Regions from separate parts of the Homo sapiens genome. Here region 1 is linked to region 2. The links are contacts of gene promoters, found by promoter capture Hi-C in human tissues and cell types (Jung and others, 2019). All regions are on one chromosome and are shown on one strand. Each heading gives the region's core, a stretch centred on a gene start or on the middle of the fragment in contact. The rest is flanking DNA. Distances are from core to core; before and after follow the strand shown.

Region 1 (4,776 bases), core at 107-2,606, 390 kb after region 2:
TTTAATTTTCAAGCTTCTCCAAGTGGAAGGTAGTGATACAAACTGGTTCACAGCGTCTAGTTCTTTTTCTGTTTGGGAAATGAAGAAGCTGAAAGGCCTGATGAGTGTGAGACGCTCTCAAGCAAACCTTGCAGCTGAGATGGGCAGGGAGTTGGTCCAAGTGAGTCAAGAACAGCAAAACCAAAGGAAAGTCCTTAGGACTCTTGACCCAGTACTCCTATGAGGACTAGAGGTTGGCCTCAGTGAAGCCCTGGGTCACTAGGGTATAGTGATGACCATCACTGTGATCCTACCAAACTTCACATTGTCACCCTGATGGGTCCCTGTGCTGGACTGGGACCCCATCCCACTCAGTGCCTTAGCAAATGTGGAACAGACAGGTTATAGATGATAGATGATAGATGGTAAGTGCTGCCTGGGGTTTAGTTGCTGTTTTATGGTCACAAAGACTGATTGAGTAAGAAGTAACCCAACTGCCTTGGGTGTGCTTTCTCAGGACCTCTTGAGATTATGTAACCTGGGCCACGGCCATTCCTATTGGCTCAGAATAAACCTCTAACATGTTTTGGCAGAATTTGGACATTTCTGTCATCACTGTTTTAAACAACACAGTAAATAGGAATAAAAACTAAATAAAATGGGCAAAGAGGATTTGTGTTAGAGGCTGGACCAGGCAGGGGTGATCTGGAGGGAAAATTACCATGCGAGAAGAGCAGCAGCCTGCAATTTGGAACCAGAACACCTGGGTCCCTTTCTCTGTGCGTCCAAAATAAGTCATTTAACCCCCTACCTTGTGCCCTCTTCACTCATATGCAAAATGAGAAGACAGGGATTGCTAAGATTCTTTCTATGGTAGAATGCTAAGAATTTTTTTTCACATGTCTTTAGTGTTTTCTTCCCTTTATTTATGTAAGTTCTATGTACTGATGAAAAATACTTTGCCTGAGAAAAAACATGCAGAGACATAGGAAACTTTTGGAGGAGATGGATGTGCTTATTACCTTGACTGTGGTGATGGTATTCGGGTGTCTGCAAATGTCCAAACTCATCAAATTGCATACATTAAATATGTGCAGTTTTTTTGCATATCAAATTCACTTCTATCAAAGCTGTTAAAAGTATTTTTGCCTCTCCATTTAGACAGCACTTAGACAACTGACAAGACTTCATGCTTCATCCTTTGTTGTTATAGGCATTGGAAAAGAAAGAATTAATATAAAATTCTAAATAACACATTAATTTTAGAACCTCTTCTCCCTACCTTTTGAGAATAGAAAAATAGGCCCTGGCAGTGTGAGCTGTGTGAGGTATGCAAAATGTATCAGGCTCAGGGAAACCTGAGTATGGGACTTCAGTCACGCTCCTCCTTCCTTGGAGGCAATTGCTTAAAGTCATTTTGTTTCTGACTGTCTGCTTCACCTAGTATCTTCATGTTCCTTGAATTTGTGATACAAAGAACAATGTACAGGCAATCAATAGCTTATGTTATTTTAATGCAAATTCTTGGTAAACAACTCAGGAACTGCCTCTTCTTTTCCTTTAAAAATCGACTAGTAACTGTTCCTAATCAGAGTGGAGATTCAGGGCAACTTGAATCTATGCTCCCGGATTGCAATCCTCAAGCTCGGCCCAAATAAACTCTCTACTTACATTCATTTCGCCTCTGCTTCTTCCTTTCGGGTCAGCATTTCTCATCTTAACTAACATGGTTTCACAACATTAGCTCTAGCTCTGGCACTTTTTCAACAGAAATTTTCAATCGTTTTGTTACATTTGGTTGAATCAGTGCTGTACCAGCACAGTTACTAATTCTTTTCGTTTGATTTGATGAAAGCTGTAATTCTTCAAAAAGAATAGAAACTTAAATCCTCTTGTGAGTTGTTAAAGAAAGTACTCATTTCAAAGATCTTGGCAAAAGCAACATTTTTTTTCTCACTCTGTGAGATCTAAAGTGTGGACACTTGTTCTATATTTAAGTGAAAAGAATATGACTTTTTTTTTTCCTGCAGAACAAGATTCTATGGAAGTCAGACCGTTTCAGACGTTAACACCAACGCTCTATCTTAATAATGTGGTTTATAAGTGATGAACTATTGTTGTGCTTCATCCAGGAAACACTTGTCAAACACAGGGGGATTATATACATGTTTTATGGAAGAGGATGCCACAGACAAATATAATGCTATCAAATGGAAGATGATGGCATTTTTAAAATGTGAGGTCCAGAAGGAAGAAAAAACTGAGGCAAATTAATACAAGTAGAGAGTTTATTTAGGCCATGTTTGGGGACTGCAACCCAGGAGACATAGATTCAAGTTGCCCTGAATGTATACTCTGATTAGCAACAATTATAAGTGGGTTCTTAAAAGGAAGGGGCAGTTCTTACATAGGTTCATTAAAATAACATTAGCTACTGATTGGTATACATTGTTCTTTGTATCACAAATTCCAGGAACATTAAGATAATAGGTGAAGGTCACTTTGTGCAACTTGTGATAACATTTTAGGTAATTTATCAGCTTGCCTGGAAACTACAGGGAAGGAAAAAGAGCAAAATGCCTTTAAACAATTGCTCTGGGGAATGGGGGGTGTTTGACTGCAGCTTCATGCTCATGGCTCTTTGGGCCTGATAAATTTTGCAGACCTCACATAGCTCAGACTGCCCAGAGCTACTTTTCTTTCTCAAATGTTTACATGTGTTGGGGCTCAGAAAGCAATATCCCAAACACAGGCTTTGCCATGCTAAGAGGCCTTAAGAGCTGCCTCAGAACCAAGGTCCCTCTGACCTTGGTAAACAACTCAGGAACTGCTGCTGCTTTTCCTTTAAAAATCAGCTTGGGGCCAGACACGGTGGCTCACGCCTGTAAGCCCAGCACTTTGGGAGACCAAGGAAGGCAGAACACGAGGTCAGGAGATCGAGACCATCCTGCCCAACATGGTGAAACCCTGTCTCTACTAAAAATACAAAAATTATCTGCGCGTGGTGGCATGCACCTGTAGTCCCAGCTTCTTGAGAGGCTGAGGCAGGAGAATCATTTGAACCTGGGAGGCGGAGGTTGCAGTGAGCCCAGATTGCACCAAGGCACTCCAGCCTAGCAACAGAGTGAGACTCTGTCTGAAAAAAAAAAAAAAAAAAAAATCAACTTGTAACTGCTCCTAATCAGAGTGGATATTCAGGGCAACTTGAATCTATGCTCCTGGGTTGCAATCCTCAAGCTCGGCCCAAATAAACTCTCTACTTTTATTAATTTCACCTCTGCTTCTTCCTTTCAGGTCAACACTTCTCATCTTAACTAACATGGTTTCACAATATTAGCTCAACAGAGTCCCTCCCTGTGCCCATGCTCCCACCCGCAAGCACAGGGAGGGACTCTAGGATTTTGTTATCTGACCAAGAAAGCTTCTTTCCAGGGGAAACCCAGTTGCCTTCAGTTCTCTGCCTGAAATCTCATTATCTATCTCAGAAAAGAAGACTGGGGAATGAAGCCACACCCGGGAGGACTTTTCACAAGATACCGCCTGCCTCTCAGATGCTTTCAAATTCCAAAGACAAATTTTACAAATTAATTTCTATCTCCAGGGTCCACTCATTGTCTCTAATGATTTGCTGCTCCTCAAAAGAATGTCTACACTCCCGATCGCCCCTTTTGCCATGAGAAAAGGTATATATGCTTCTCTTCCCCCACTGTGGTATTGGGTAATCATTCTCCTTCAGTTCTCCCATGCTATGTACATTAAAATGACATTTTGGATGCCTTTTCTCCTATTCTGTCTTTTATCAGTTGATTTTCACTGAACCTTCAGAGGGTGAAGAGGAAGCTTTTCCTTGACTTCTACACAGGCTGGAAATAAATAACCTCCGCTTAGGACACCCCTGGCAGGGGCTTTCCAAACCACTTCCAACCCTGGAGAGAAAGATAATGATGTGCCCAAACAAGTAAGTGACAGTAAGAAATTAGTGAGTGCGGCAGATGTTGGGGAAAGGCCTGCAGCCTATTGCTTCTGCTCTTTGGGATTTCAAGTCTCAACTGTGGTCATGGCAAAGCGCTGTAAAAGAGGTGGGTTGCCAGTGCTAAGGGAATGGCCAAACAAAATTACCCAAGGATATTGTAAGCAGTGGTGAATCCGTATAGGCCTTCAGCAACCTCAATTCTGTCCTCATCAGAAGAAAGAATTTGACTGAGGGGCATAAGCTCAAGTGAGAGACTGAGGTAAATTTTATAGCAGGAATGAACGTTTATTAAAAATCTTCAGAATAGGAACAAAAGGAAGTGTACACTTGGAGGCAGGTCGAATGGGCAACCTGAGTGTCAAGTGCGTGGTTGACCTTGACCTGGGGTCTTATACATCAGCATGCTTCTGGGGTTATGTCACTTCTCCCCCGATTCTTCCCTTGGGGTGGACTCTCACACGTGCAGTGGCCTGCCAGCACTTGGCAGTGGGCGCACGTGCAGTGTGTTTACTGGAATTGTGTATACGCTCAATTGAGGCATTTTCCCATTACCAGTCGAATGCTCCTAGAGGAAGGTCATAGACAACTTAGACTCTGCCATTTTGCCCCTTAGTGGTCATAGACCATTTAGACTCTGCCATTTGCTCAAGCCTACTCACCCAGATCCTGATATCCTATCCAGACGCCTATCACCAGATTCGGGTGTTTTCTCTCTGCTGGGAGACGGCCGTTCCCTGGCACCAGCTGCGACCAATTATTATTTTGGAGAAACAGCTTAATAACTGCCTGCCCATCACCTGATTGTTGCCTGACATTCCTGGTGG
Region 2 (4,545 bases), core at 311-2,810:
CCGGCATTCGGTCCCCGTGACTACATAACTTAAGCACTGCATCTGTGGAAGTCTCTCCACTCAATGCTGGACCCTAATTAATGTATTTGAGATCCAGGCAGACATTGTCCCTGGGCTCAACGACTAACCTTCCTGAAAACACGCATTTCTCAGTATGCGCATAACGCAAATAGGTGCTCACAGGCATCCGAACAGTATGCTTCGAAAAGAAGCATTTTCCCAAGAAGCCCCCCCAACCCCCATCCCCCGCAAACTCCGGAATTGGGAGACACAACAGGTACTTCCACCTCGGAAGCGAAGGCCTTCTGCGACTCCTGCCAAGAAGGGCAGGGTGCCATGCGGTGGTCGCCTGGGCGCGTCCGGGGGGCTCGTCGCGGGGCCCGGGCCAGAGCCAGGCGGCGAGCACGCGGCGCTGCATGCGGGAAACCCGGGCGGCGCCTCCCGCCGCCCCTCAGCCCCGAGCCAGGGACCCCCAGGAGAGGCTGCGCTCCCACGACCCTCCGGACCCCCACAGAGGCTCACCAGGGCCGGCGCGCCAGGGCAGGTGGGCGCGGGGGCTGCACTGCGGAGCCGCAGCCTGGGTCGCCCTGGCACCCGCGGTCGCCACCCGCGCGGTCCGCAGCGGCACGCCGAGGGTCTCCAGCTCCCCGGCCCTCCCCGGCTCGCTCCCGGCTTTCGCAGACTTCCCCTGCTCCTGCCCCGGGTACGAGCCAAGCGCTCCGCCAGGCAGCGCCTTCCTCCTGGGCTGGGAGCGCGCGGTGCAGCAGCGACTCCAAGTCCCCTGGCCTCGAGCAGCCCGCGCGACACGCGCGCGACACCCCCGCGGGGTCCGAGTCCACCCCGCGAGCAGCGCCGGGACGCCGCGCGCCTCAGAGCCCCGGGGCTGACGCTGGCTTTCCAGGTGGGCGATCTCACCCCTCCGGCTCCCGTGATGGTGGCAACGGGTGTCCCCCACCCCCAACCGGTCACCGCGCCCTGGTGCCCCGTCCGGCAGGGATGAGCCGCCCGGACCCCGCTCTCTCCCGCGCCCGGCTTCAGCCCCGCAGTCGCCAGGGTAAAGTTTGCGCTCTGGCCTGGCTGCGCGCCCCGCCTGCTCTGCACCTCTCCTCCCCGGCCACGCAGCCTGCCGCTCAGGCGCCCCGAGGAGAAGGGTGCGGACCGAGCCGGGGCGGCCGGTCCTCTTCCCCGCTCGCGTCCTCTTACCCCACTGCCCCGGCCCAGCGCGCCCAGGGCTCACCCTGCGCGCCGGCCCCGGGAGGCGAGCCGTCGGTGAGGATGCATCCTCCTTCTCCTCCGCCTGCTCTCGCCCGGCTGGCAGGCGCGGAAGGCCGGTGCGGCGTCACCGCCCCATGCTGCCAGCGCGAACTTCCCCGGCACTCCCGGCGGAGCGGCTCTTGCGCCCCGCGCTCCCGCCGCCGCCCTGCAGCTCCGCTCCGCGCCGCGCCCCGGGCCGCGCGCCGCCCGCCGCAGAGCCCCCCAGCGCCCCCGGCGCACTCGCGCCCGCTCTCACCTCGCCCGAGCGCCACATGTCGTCTCTGGGCTGGAGGATCGGCCCTCTGCAGAGGTGCTCCGGTAGAGGCCGCCAGACGCTCAGCAAATGCGCCCTTGGCCGAGCTGGGCGGAGGGGGAGGGCGCAGGGCCCCCGGCTCGGCCTGCAAGGGGAGAGGCCCTGTTCTGCTGAAGTTTCTCCAGGGCCCTCAACAGCATCTTCGGCGCCTCGTGTAGTCACCACCGCCCGCTTGTAGAGCAGGGATGGGAGGGCAGTGTCAGCAGTCGGGTGATAGAGGCCTGGACTCCGACAGCTTTGCTCCCTAGAGCCGGCCCCAACGCCTCCCTGCCCAGGCCTGGGTCCTTCCCGGGTGCTCCATGGCACCCCTTACATGCGCATCTCTTAGGCGCTTCTGAAAGAAGCTGGCCTGTGGACATTCTTTTCATCTCACTCATAGACAGGAATGCATAACTACGGGAGGGAAAGCCAGGGTCACATTGGACTCGATTAGAATGAAATCCTTACCTAACGCAGTGTATATCTGGGGGTTTTCTGAAGTTCCATTTCTTGACAACAAGCCGCAGTGGCAAACGGGAAAGGGCCAGGAGCCCTGGGGGCTGCAGGTCGGAGAGCGCCTCTGGGGTGACGGGGCGGGATCTCCCCAGCAGGGCTTCCGAGCCACGTCGGGTCACTGCCTCATTAGCCACGTACATGGGGTCTTACTATGGTCATTACGTCGGTGTGTCGTCCGTCCTAGTGGTGCAGTTCCTGGGAGGTGAGGGTGGCATTAATGACAACTGCGCGGCAGCAGGGCCCCTTCAAACAACACAAGTAAGAGCGCATCGTCTTGGGTTTGCCAGGTCTTGCTTCCTCAGGAGGTGGGGGACTCTCGACTATAACACCCAGTGGAAAACGTTCAAGACTCAAAGGAAAGCCACTGAAAACGTGATGGGGAGGTTTACTTACACCATTGTCCCATTCCTTTTGTGAAACTGCATTATTCATAATCTCTTTTAACAGAATAATGGTAAGTAAAGGCAAATTCCTAACTCCCCTCCAGGAAAGATCTTTGACCTTCCAGTGTAGGAAGCCTCTCATTTTTCCAGTTATCTCTAATACAGTGTATTCCAAATCTAAGTTACCTGTTAATACTTCTGCACATTCCAGAAATTCTGAAATTTTCTGAAAAACAAAACTTGTAAATCTATTCCAGGAATAGGACATAAATATACATAAATGTGCAAATATACAGGAAGTGTTTCTCTGAATATACATTTAGCCACACTATTAAATAACTGTTTCCAGTGGTTCTTCAGGAAATATGAATGAAATAAGATGCTAATTTGAATTTTCTAATTCTAAAATGGATCACTGAACGTATGCATTTCTTCATTTTCTAATTTCCCAAAAGATGTACCACTAGGGTGAAATTCCTTGGGAGACATTAAATTTTAAAAAGTTAACAACATGGTTTTATGATCAGCCTAATATAATTTTCACCTATTAGGTGTTGGAATTCTAACACCTAATACCAGCGACAGCTGCTCTTCTCTCAGGATTAAACAGCATAATGCAAATCAAAGAGTTGGAAGAATTGGTAAATTTTAAACTTCACAGCTTGTCACACAAAGTCATTCGGTGTGAGTTTGCAAAAATAAATGTATATAAACAAGGGATGATTTTTGTATTAGCGAGGGTTATAGACATTAATTCTTAATAATAAAAGAAATGTCAGCTGTAAGGAAATATGTTCTTTTGATGGATTATGTTTAAAACTTCCACTTTTTTTGGTACACTTTCTATCAGCTTTATGTCCACACAACACATATTATTGAATATATAAAAATCATTTTAAGTTAGAGTCATTCTTTAACATTGTATTTCAGCATGTTGCTTAAATTCTTTTCTCTTCCCTGTAATGAAACGGTATGCCACTCTCTCTCCTCCTAGTGTTTATGTAACATAACATAGCCTCACTTTAGATGGACTGCCCTGAGGGGACAGTGAAATCGTAAGGCCCATCAGAACCTTACAGAAACTCACATTGCTAGAAGAGTGCTTACTACCATTTCAATGATTTTTGTTTTACTATAGAATTCTGTATTTGTGCTGAGAAATAATAGGCTATCCGTTGAATTCCCATTTGTTTCATTAGCATTTTCTCTTCATTGAATGAAATTAAGCAATGTCGTGATCGTTGTGGAAGACAGTAGAGGGCACCCTAGTTCCACACAACCTCAGCCTTGGCCCGGGCTTCATAAGAATTTCATTTCCAGTGTCAGAGCCTAAAATAGCTGAAGGTGGGGAAGCTGGGCCATGAGTAGAACACGTGTTCACAGAGCACCCACCCTGTACCCCGGTCAGGGGCAGGAACTGAGACAGTGGCTGTGTTTGCGTGGTTGGGTGTGGTAAATGTGGCTGAGACATGAACACAGTGCCATGGTATAAGTGAGATCATGTGCTATTTGTCTTTCTGTGCTTGGCTTATTTCACCAAGCATGTTCTCCAGGTTCATCCATGTGGTCAAAAATGGCAGGATTTCCTTCTTTGTTAGGGCTAAATAATATACTGTCGTATATGTATGTTATACATATACGTGTGTGTGTGTGTGTGTGTGCGTGTGTGTGTGTACGTATCTCACAGTTTCTTTATTCATTTATCCATTGGCAGATGCTTAGGTTGTTCCATTATTTGGCTATTGTAAAAAATGCCAAAATGAACATGACAGTTCAGATCTCTCTTTCAGATACTGATTTTATTTCCTTTGACTATATCCCCAGAAAGGGGGTTACTGGGTATATAGTGGTTGCCACGGGCTGGGAGAAGGAGAGACGGGGAGATGTGGGTCAAAGGGTACAAAATTTCAGTTATGCAAGATGAATAAGTTCTGGGGATCTACTATACAACATTGTGACTACAGCTAACAACACTGCGATATATACTTCACACTTGCTAAGAGGGTAGATCTTATGGGTTCTCATCACACACACAAAAGAGGGCAGCTCTGCGAGGTGATGGAAATGTGAGTGCATGTGATTGTGGTGGTGAAGTATACA

Evidence for each region. Contacts are between HindIII fragments. The study calls those that stand out against the background at their distance.
Region 1: a fragment that was not itself captured here is called in contact with the fragment with the promoter of GABRA5 in region 2 in 1 of the 25 tissues and cell types used here (dorsolateral prefrontal cortex).

Annotation. Positions count from the first base shown.
Region 1 is chr15:26,469,902-26,474,677 of GRCh38, reverse strand. All of the region lies in intron 5 of LINC02248 (long intergenic non-protein coding RNA 2248), which reads right to left. It overlaps LOC105370740 (a long non-coding RNA gene), which reads left to right. Exons shown (of 6, transcript XR_007064792.1): 2 at 3,581-3,662; 3 at 3,783-3,937. Among named protein-coding and RNA genes, the nearest start is that of LINC02248, 77 kb to the right of the region's middle. The HindIII fragment of the contact is 4,509 bases long and covers 1-3,610 here.
Region 2 is chr15:26,864,077-26,868,621 of GRCh38, reverse strand. It overlaps GABRA5 (gamma-aminobutyric acid type A receptor subunit alpha5), which reads right to left and starts at 1,560. Exons shown (of 11, transcript NM_000810.4): 1 at 1,511-1,560. The HindIII fragment of the contact is 20,920 bases long and covers 1-4,545 here.